Regions from separate parts of the Homo sapiens genome. Here all the other regions are linked to region 3. The links are contacts of gene promoters, found by promoter capture Hi-C in blood cells and fetal thymus (Javierre and others, 2016). All regions are on one chromosome and are shown on one strand. The core of a region is centred on a gene start or on the middle of the fragment in contact, and the rest is flanking DNA. Distances in the headings are between cores, read along the strand shown.

Evidence for each region. The method cuts DNA at HindIII sites, captures the fragments that hold promoters and counts their contacts. A CHiCAGO score of 5 or more calls a contact.
Region 1: a contact is called between a fragment that was not itself captured here and the fragment with the promoter of SMG8 in region 3, in 1 of 17 cell types (megakaryocytes). The highest score is 5.7, in megakaryocytes.
Region 2: a fragment that was not itself captured here is called in contact with the fragment with the promoter of SMG8 in region 3 in 1 of 17 cell types (endothelial precursors); the score reaches 5.0 in endothelial precursors.

What each region holds. Positions count from the first base shown.
Region 1 is chr17:59,686,658-59,689,575 of GRCh38, forward strand. All of the region lies in intron 30 of CLTC (clathrin heavy chain), which reads left to right. Among named protein-coding and RNA genes, the nearest start is that of PTRH2, 19 kb to the right of the region's middle. The HindIII fragment of the contact is 806 bases long and covers 1,026-1,831 here.
Region 2 is chr17:59,547,506-59,550,461 of GRCh38, forward strand. All of the region lies in intron 2 of LOC105371847 (a long non-coding RNA gene), which reads left to right. Among named protein-coding and RNA genes, the nearest start is that of DHX40, 17 kb to the right of the region's middle. The HindIII fragment of the contact is 1,723 bases long and covers 464-2,186 here.
Region 3 is chr17:59,208,716-59,211,415 of GRCh38, forward strand. It overlaps SMG8 (SMG8 nonsense mediated mRNA decay factor), which reads left to right and starts at 1,320. Exons shown (of 4, transcript NM_018149.7): 1 at 1,320-2,700. The coding sequence starts at 1,337. RefSeq lists an enhancer at 1,129-1,198. The HindIII fragment of the contact is 12,029 bases long and covers 1-2,334 here.

The DNA.
Region 1 (2,918 bases), core at 179-2,678, 480 kb after region 3:
AAAAACATGTTGCCTTATCTTAGCCATAGATGAGAATAGCTTCTTAAACATAATGCCAACTTGTGAGACCTGTCTTTAAGCTGCTGTTAACCTAAGTGCTGTAAATTTTTCTAGTGATTAAGCTGCTTTCTTTCATACTGTAGCATAAATTCTTCTGCATTAAGCTTTGAAGTTACACAAAATTCTAAATTTTGCTTCCAGTATGCCCTTTATTTTCACTTCTCTCATACCTTTTTAGTGGTTAGATGTTTCTTCCCTAAACCTTTGTTGCTGATTCTACCTTTTTATGCTCAATATGGAATTGATTTTTTTTCTAAGCTGCACCTTCTGAATTCCTTTGCAGGTTGATGCAATAAAGGAAAAGGTGAAAGTTGATTCTTTAACATCTTTAAGTCTGGAGGACTAAGTCTAAGGAATTTGCATGATGTTTTTCCTTCCTCTTCTACACTGCTGCTGCTGCTTTTTCCCCCCAATAAATTTTCACTAAAGCCTCTGCAAGTCCCTTGAAACATAACTTTAATAGAGCTGTAGGACATTAGTAGACGTTTGCTACTAATCGGCTAATAGGCTTTAGGAAGGGCAGGAGGCTAATCAGTAGTTGGTTCACAGTCTCTCTTAAATATATTATGAAAAACTGAGTATGGTGAGTTTCCATATTAATTTCAAAGTAACAGGAAATTTCTCTTCCCTGTCAGGGTATCTGGACCATAATAGGACTGTCATAATCCTTGAAGTAAATTAAAACAGCCTCTGGTTTTACTTTGTGAGCTTGCCTGACAGTTGTCGAATTTATATATGTATATATACATGCCCTAAAAGGCTTTTTGGGGTTTTTTTTTTTTTGTATTGAAGGACTGTGATCCAGTTTCTGATCTCTTGATTCTTACTAATTTTTTGCTGAAAGTAGATACGAGAGATACTAGCTGCTTCCGAAGAGACTTTCCTCATGTTTCTCCAGGTGTCCAGTTCTTATGGTGCTAGTCCATTTTTAAGAGGAATCAAAACCTTTTTAATCATGAGAGCCAAGCTTGCTATAATTGTTGCTAAGCAACATGAATTATTTTTAACAAAGTATTAACTTCTACTTTCTGTAATAAGGCATACCTCTGAAGCTACCTAAAATTTGCTCTCCTATTTATCAGTTGGCTTGTCCAAGGATGTCAAATTCAGGCACCTTTTGGTTGCTGCTTCCTTCATTGGCTTGTCTCCATCCCAATATAAATGAAACAAACTTACGTCTGTTATCAAATTGTGGTTAGAAAAGGGTGGGAAGGTAAAGGAGAGTTGAAACAAATTTAAAAGAATTTGGGTGGGGGACAATGCCTTGGGATTATGTTGAACCAAACTGGAATCACCACTGGAACTTAGGGCAAACCTGAGTAAAATGCATTGTGTGTGAGACCCTTCAGCAGCTAGTAAGCAAGGCAGTTAGAAAGCGTGTGTGTGAAAAACAGGTAATTGAACTGCAGTGTTATGCATTGTTTTAAATGAAGCATGTACAACAGTCATTGCAATTACATCATACTATTTTTGAAACTCTTATAGCATTGCTGTGGGCTGTGTGTGTTTCTTGAGAGCCTGTATAGCAAGTCATCTTCAGACCTCACTTCTTGCTTCAGTACTTTTGCCTTTTTTTCATGCACACATACACCAAAATAACTGACTGCATGTTACTTTTCCTCTGCAGCACATTGCAGTCTTTGTGGAAAAGCCTTTTACATTTTAGTGAATTTTCAGTAGTACAGATGGAACTGAATTCATTGACATGCTTACCTGTAATTTTTCTTTTTAAATCCAAGGATCAGAAACTTTAGTTACAGCTCTTAACAAAAGCTTGTGTTCTTAAAAGACTTCTCTGCTTTTTTTTTGAGCAATCTAAATTGGATCAGTGGAAACAAAAATTGAAAGTCCCTGTGCCAGAGGCTGTCCCATTATATAGAAGAATCAAACTTTTTGCTTAGCTTGATGCTATTCCTTCAGAATTCTTCCCCCTACGCCCAAACTTCCTATGTGTATGCCAGGGCATTGTGATATTGCCAGCTCTTCTAAGTCTTCCATGTGTTTCTCTAATAGGACTTCTGTGTTCAACATCTGATTCAGACCTTAACTTTTAAACACATGTTCACTTCAGATTCTTTTCCCTGGAAGTCCGGAAATGTATTATGCAGTGGTGGCTTTTTGGTTGTTTCATTTTTCTTCTTTTTTCTTAGAAGTTACTAATATACAGGCATCCATGTATTTTTCTTTATAACTTCTGTAGCTCTTTCTTGAATACTGGTTAGTTAGCAAAACCCCATCTGATCCTTGATGGCACAGAGCTGTGCTTTAAGTTCTATAACTAATAATTTTTGTTCTAAGTGTGGATGCCAAAAAATGGACATTTCATATGGTACTTATACTACATAATAGTCTTTAATTTGATATTAGGGTAATTTGTAACACATCATTTAGACTATAAAGTAGGATAATAGTGTATAAAAGTAAACTAATCCATCTTCCTAGGCTAGAAATTAAACCACATTTCATCTGAAGGAGCCTACTTAGGCTTACTTTTCTCAAACTTTCAGTTCCCTAACAAATTAAGATGGATTAGACTCATATTTATGGTATTTAATATGAAACAATTAAATATAAAACAGTGCCCTAACCTTAATGGCCTATGTGAAGACTGAAAGATACTTTTTTAATAGTTTCAAACAGAAATGAGGTGCTGCCTTAATCTTTTTAGGACCTGGTTTTTAGAAACTTTTCCACTGAAGTCTACAATTTTTTTTTTTGAGTGATTTTTCATAATTTGCCTTTTTGAAGAACATGCAGTGAGCATTCATAAAGTGTTTCCCCCTGCACCTTGGCCCCCCGTCTCATGCAGCACATTTATGACATTGAAAACCACCAGTAATAGATAACATTGAGATTTG
Region 2 (2,956 bases), core at 75-2,574, 340 kb after region 3:
TGTTCTGTGTTACCCAGGGGAATGGTCAGGGCGGTGAGTAATGATGGTCACGATGCATATGGTTTTCTATAGTCCTAATTGTCAGTGCATTTAGATCCGAGGAAAGGAACAAATTAAAAAGGGCAGAATGGCTGGGTGAGCACTTTCTTGTGATTGCAAAGAACTGGGTCTATTCTTACCCTTTCTGCCCCTTGCTTTATGCTTTACACCTGCCATTTCCAGACTGACAAGGCGCTTTGGTGGCGCCTTGGTCAATGCAATGGGGACTACAATTAATTTAAAAAGGGGTAATGCATGCAAATCGCAGAAAAATATTAACACCAGGAGAAAAAACACAGTGTGGAAAAATAATCCTACAAAAATGTTTATAGTGGGGTCAAACATTTACCCACATTATAATTCCAATACATGCAAAGAAAATACTCCTTTTTAATTTCTATCATGGACCTAATTTTTCCTTGCAAGCTTCCACCTTGCTCTATAATAAGAGGAAAAAAACCAACCAAACGTTAAACTTGTCATTCCAGGCAACAATCTTTTTTTAGTTTAAATAGTTTATTTTGGCCCTGCATGGTGGCTTACTTCTCTATTTAATCCCAGTGCTTTGGGAGACCAAGGAAGGAAAATGGCTTGAGGCCAGGAGTTCAAGACCAGCCTGGGAAACATAGCGAGACCCCGTTTCTAGAAAAAATTTAAAAATTAGCTGGGTGTGGCAGTGCATACCTGTAGTCCCAGCTATTCAGGAGGCCAAAGCAGGAGGATTTCTTGAGTCCAGGAGTTTGAGGCTGTAGTGAGCTATGATTGTGCCACTGCACTCCAGCCTGAGTGACTGAGACCCTGTCTCAAAAAATATAAATAAATAAATAAATAAATAGTCACTTTTGAATAACAAATTTTCTTTTGGTTAAATCCAGAATCTTTCACATTTCTTCCTGCTTCCCTCTGCTTCTGTTCAAAATAATGTCTAGCTGTACAGAGGGATTTGTGACCTAGGGTGGCAAGGAGAGGAAGGGCCTCAGATCTATGTGGGGGTCTCAGGATCAAATTTGTCTCTATACCAGAGTGCATGTTTAGGGGAGCCAGAGATCAACCCCCTTTTGCTCTTAGTGGCCTCTTCAGCTAGATCTAGAAACCAAATTGACACCAGGCAGATTAACAAGGGAAAAGCAAACAAATTGTATTAGTTCTACATGTACATGGGGGTATTCACAAGAGCATGAAGTCTGAATAAGTAGCCAAAGCAAGATGCTTTTGTATTTTTAGACAAAAAATGTTACATTTGAAAAGAAATGACAGAACAAAGAGTATCTGGCCAGGGGCAGTAAATTTTCTAGGGGAGTCACTCGGACATGTATGGAGGATGTAAAACAGGTGGAAGAAAAGGGTTACTTCGTCAAGTACATTTATTCGATCCATTGCAGCCTCCAATTCTTTTTTTTTTTTTTTTTTTGAAATGGAGTCTCACTCTGCACCCCAGGCTGGAGTGCAGTGGTGCGATCTCACTCACTGTAACATCCTCCTCCAAGGTTCAAGTGATTCTCCTGCCTTAGCCTTCCAAGTAGCTGGGACTACAGGCGCCCACCACCACGCCCGGTTAATTTTTGTATTTTAGAGACGGGGTTTCATCATGTTGGCCAGGCTGGTCTTGAACTCCTGACCTCAGGCAATCTGCCCGCCTGTACCTCCCAAAGTGCTGGGATTACAGTCGTGAGCCACCCCGCCTGGCCTGCAGCCTCCAATTCTAAGTCTCTGGTGATAAGGGTTTGCTCGCTCTGGTATGCAGAGGGTGCCCCTCCCAGAGGCATCTGTATCTCTTGCTGCATGAAATTACAATTTCTCAACTGTTTTCAATTTCAAATAATTACTATACCAATCCGGAATATTTTGGGATGGCACATTCTTCACTCCTTCACATATCTCTGACTAAGTTATTTACATAGTAGAAATAAGTTCTCTATTATATCAGAAAAGTTGCAAAAGTAATTTATTTCTATTGTTTTTTATTTAATGTTTTTTATCTACCATGTATTTACTTTTTTTATACTTTCCTACCTTCTATTGAGTTACTGATTTATTTTTCACCCTTACTGACTTGAAAGTTATGTTAAAAAAATTAACCTTTACTTATTATCGATTAAAAAGGAGTTTCTCTGATAAAAAAGTGGGGTTTCAGGTTTATAACGTAAAGCTTTATGTGATATAGAAAAATGTATCAGTAAACAAAGCATGTTGTTTTCTTACAGGCTTACACAATTTTGAAATCAATCTTTTCCTCATTGTAATTACATAGAAGCTTAAAATTTTTTTAAGTTTGTTTTATCCATTTTTCCTTGTATACTTTACCTTTGGTGGCAAGTTCACAGTTACCAAGTATATTTTCTTCACAGTGGTAAAATTAACAAGAACTTACTTTTGCTTTTTTTATTTATAAGAACAATATCACTTCCTTTTACTGAATCAATGTTTACTCTTAAATTTGTAACATGCATGGCTCAACTTGGTCTAAGATACTGTCAGCCTCTTTTGAACAGTATACAATCTGAGAAACTTTATTCCTCCCATTCTTCCTGTTATTATAGTAATTTGGTTTCACCTTTTCAAAAACCCTCTCAACTTAGAGTATTAATTTATTTATTTTTATTTTTGTTTTATTTTTTATTTATTTATTTTTGAGACGGAGTCTCGCTCTTGTTGCTCAGGCTGGAGTGCAGTGGTGTGATCTCAGCTCACTGCAACCTCTACCTCCCGGGCTCAAGCAATTCTCCTGCCTCAGCCTCCCGAGTAGCTGGGATTACAGGTGCACGCCACCATGCCCGGCTAATTTTTGTATTTTTGGTAGGACAGGGTTTCACCTTGTTGGCCAGGCTGGTCTCGGACTCCTGACCTCAAGTGATCTGCCCGCCTCAGCCTCCCAAAGTATAGGGATTACAGATGTGAACCACCGTGCCTGGCCTGA
Region 3 (2,700 bases), core at 70-2,569:
AAATATTTCCTTGCTTTTAGTAAGAACACACCCCTAAATGCAATGGTTTATTTTGCTTGCTTTTGAACTCTATAGAAATAAAATCAGGCCTGGCGCAGTGGCTCTCGCCTGTAATCCCACCACTTTGGGAGGCCGAGGCGGGCAGATCATGAGATCAGGAGATTGAGACTATCCTGGCCAACATGGTGAAATCCTGTCTCTATTAAAAATACAAAAGTTAGCTGGGTGTGGTCTCACGCACCTGTAATCCCAGCTACTTGGGAGGCTGAGGCAAGAGAATCACTTGCACCGGGGAGCCGGAGGTTGCAGTGAGTCGAGATCGCGCCACTGAACTCTAGCCTGGCCACAGAGCAAGACTGCATCTCCAAAAAAAAAAAAAAAAAAAAAAAAAAATAGAATTATAGGGTATATACACTTTTGTTTCTGATTTCTTTCAATCAACATTTATTTTAAAGATTCAGTCATGTTATTGTATAGTGCTATAGATAATTTTTTTAGATTCAAAGATTTTTATTTTTTACAAAACCCCAGAATAATAAACGTTATAATTATACATTTAAATCTGGTTGTAAGTTTTATCCTGGCAGCTATTTGTCAATATGCCTTCTAGTTAGAGAGGTTCTGCAAGTTATAATTTACATACAAAGATATTTCGCAATTTTTTTTTTTTTTGAGACGGAGTCTCACTCTGTCGCCCAGGCTGGAGTGCAGCGGGGTGATCTCGGCTCACTGCAACCTCCACCTCCTGGTTCGAGCAATTCTCCTGCCTCAGCCTCCTGAGCAGCTGGAACTACAGGTATGCGCCACCACGCCTAATTTTTGCTTTTTTTTTTTTTTTTTTTTTTTTTTTTAGACGGTTTTCGCTCTTGTTGCCCAGGCTGGAGTGCAATGGTGTGATCTCGGTTCACTGCAACTTCCGCCTCCCGGGTTCAAGCGATTGTCCTGCCTCAGCCTCCCGAGTAGCTGGGATTACAGGCGCCCGCCACCACGCCCGGCTAATTTTCGTATTTTTAGTAGAGATGGGGTTTCACCATGTTGGCCAGCCTGGTCTCGAACTCCTGACTTCAGGTGATCCGCCCGCCTTGGCCTCCCAAAGTGCTAGGATTACAGGCGTGAGCCACCGCAGTAGTCCCAGTTTTGTTTTGTTTTTTTGTTTTTTGTTTTTGATATCTCAATTCCTACAGTTGAGGAAACAAACTAGGAGAGGAGAAGAGGAGGCGGAACTCAAGTGACGGGAAAGCAGGAACTGAAGAAGCGGAGGAAGGATTTCAAAATTGGACGAAAGCCGGTCGGTTTTACTAACGGACCGGAAGGACTCTAGAGAACGCTCTGCACTATGGCTGGTCCCGTGAGCTTGCGAGACCTTCTAATGGGAGCATCAGCCTGGATGGGCTCTGAAAGTCCCGGAGGGTCCCCTACTGAGGGCGGAGGGAGCGCGGCTGGCGGACCGGAGCCTCCATGGCGGGAGGATGAGATCTGCGTTGTGGGAATCTTCGGCAAGACGGCTCTACGCCTGAATTCCGAGAAGTTCTCTCTTGTGAATACGGTGTGCGACCGACAGGTCTTTCCTCTCTTTCGCCACCAAGATCCTGGGGATCCAGGACCTGGAATCAGAACTGAGGCTGGCGCCGTGGGTGAGGCCGGTGGAGCCGAGGACCCTGGGGCTGCAGCCGGGGGTTCAGTTCGGGGAAGTGGAGCTGTCGCGGAAGGTAACCGAACTGAGGCAGGCTCCCAGGACTACAGCCTTCTGCAGGCCTACTACAGTCAGGAAAGCAAAGTTCTGTATCTTCTCCTCACCTCCATCTGTGACAATTCACAGCTTCTCCGGGCTTGTCGGGCTCTTCAGAGCGGGGAAGCTGGAGGTGGACTCTCTTTACCTCATGCAGAAGCACACGAGTTCTGGAAGCATCAAGAGAAGCTGCAGTGCCTCAGTCTCCTTTACCTATTCTCTGTCTGTCATATCTTGCTTCTGGTCCATCCCACTTGTTCCTTTGATATCACTTATGATCGAGTATTCAGAGCCCTGGATGGGCTGAGACAGAAGGTCCTGCCGCTCCTTAAAACAGCCATTAAGGATTGTCCAGTTGGCAAAGACTGGAAGCTAAACTGCCGACCTTGCCCACCTAGACTCCTTTTCCTCTTTCAACTCAATGGAGCCCTCAAGGTAGAACCTCCTCGGAACCAAGACCCAGCTCATCCAGACAAGCCCAAGAAACATTCTCCCAAAAGGAGGCTGCAGCATGCCCTGGAGGACCAGATCTATAGAATCTTCCGGAAGAGTCGTGTCTTGACTAATCAGAGCATCAACTGCCTCTTTACTGTGCCTGCCAACCAAGCTTTCGTGTACATAGTACCGGGAAGCCAGGAGGAGGACCCAGTAGGTATGTTGCTGGACCAACTTAGGAGTCATTGTACTGTGAAGGACCCGGAATCTTTGCTGGTGCCTGCACCCCTTTCTGGGCCTAGGCGATACCAGGTGATGAGGCAGCACAGCCGACAACAACTTTCCTTTCACATTGACAGCAGCAGTTCCAGTTCTTCAGGCCAGCTAGTGGATTTCACTCTTCGGGAATTCCTATGGCAGCATGTGGAGCTAGTTCTAAGCAAGAAAGGTTTCGATGACAGTGTGGGCAGGAACCCACAGCCTTCCCATTTTGAACTTCCTACTTATCAGAAGTGGATCTCAGCAGCTTCAAAACT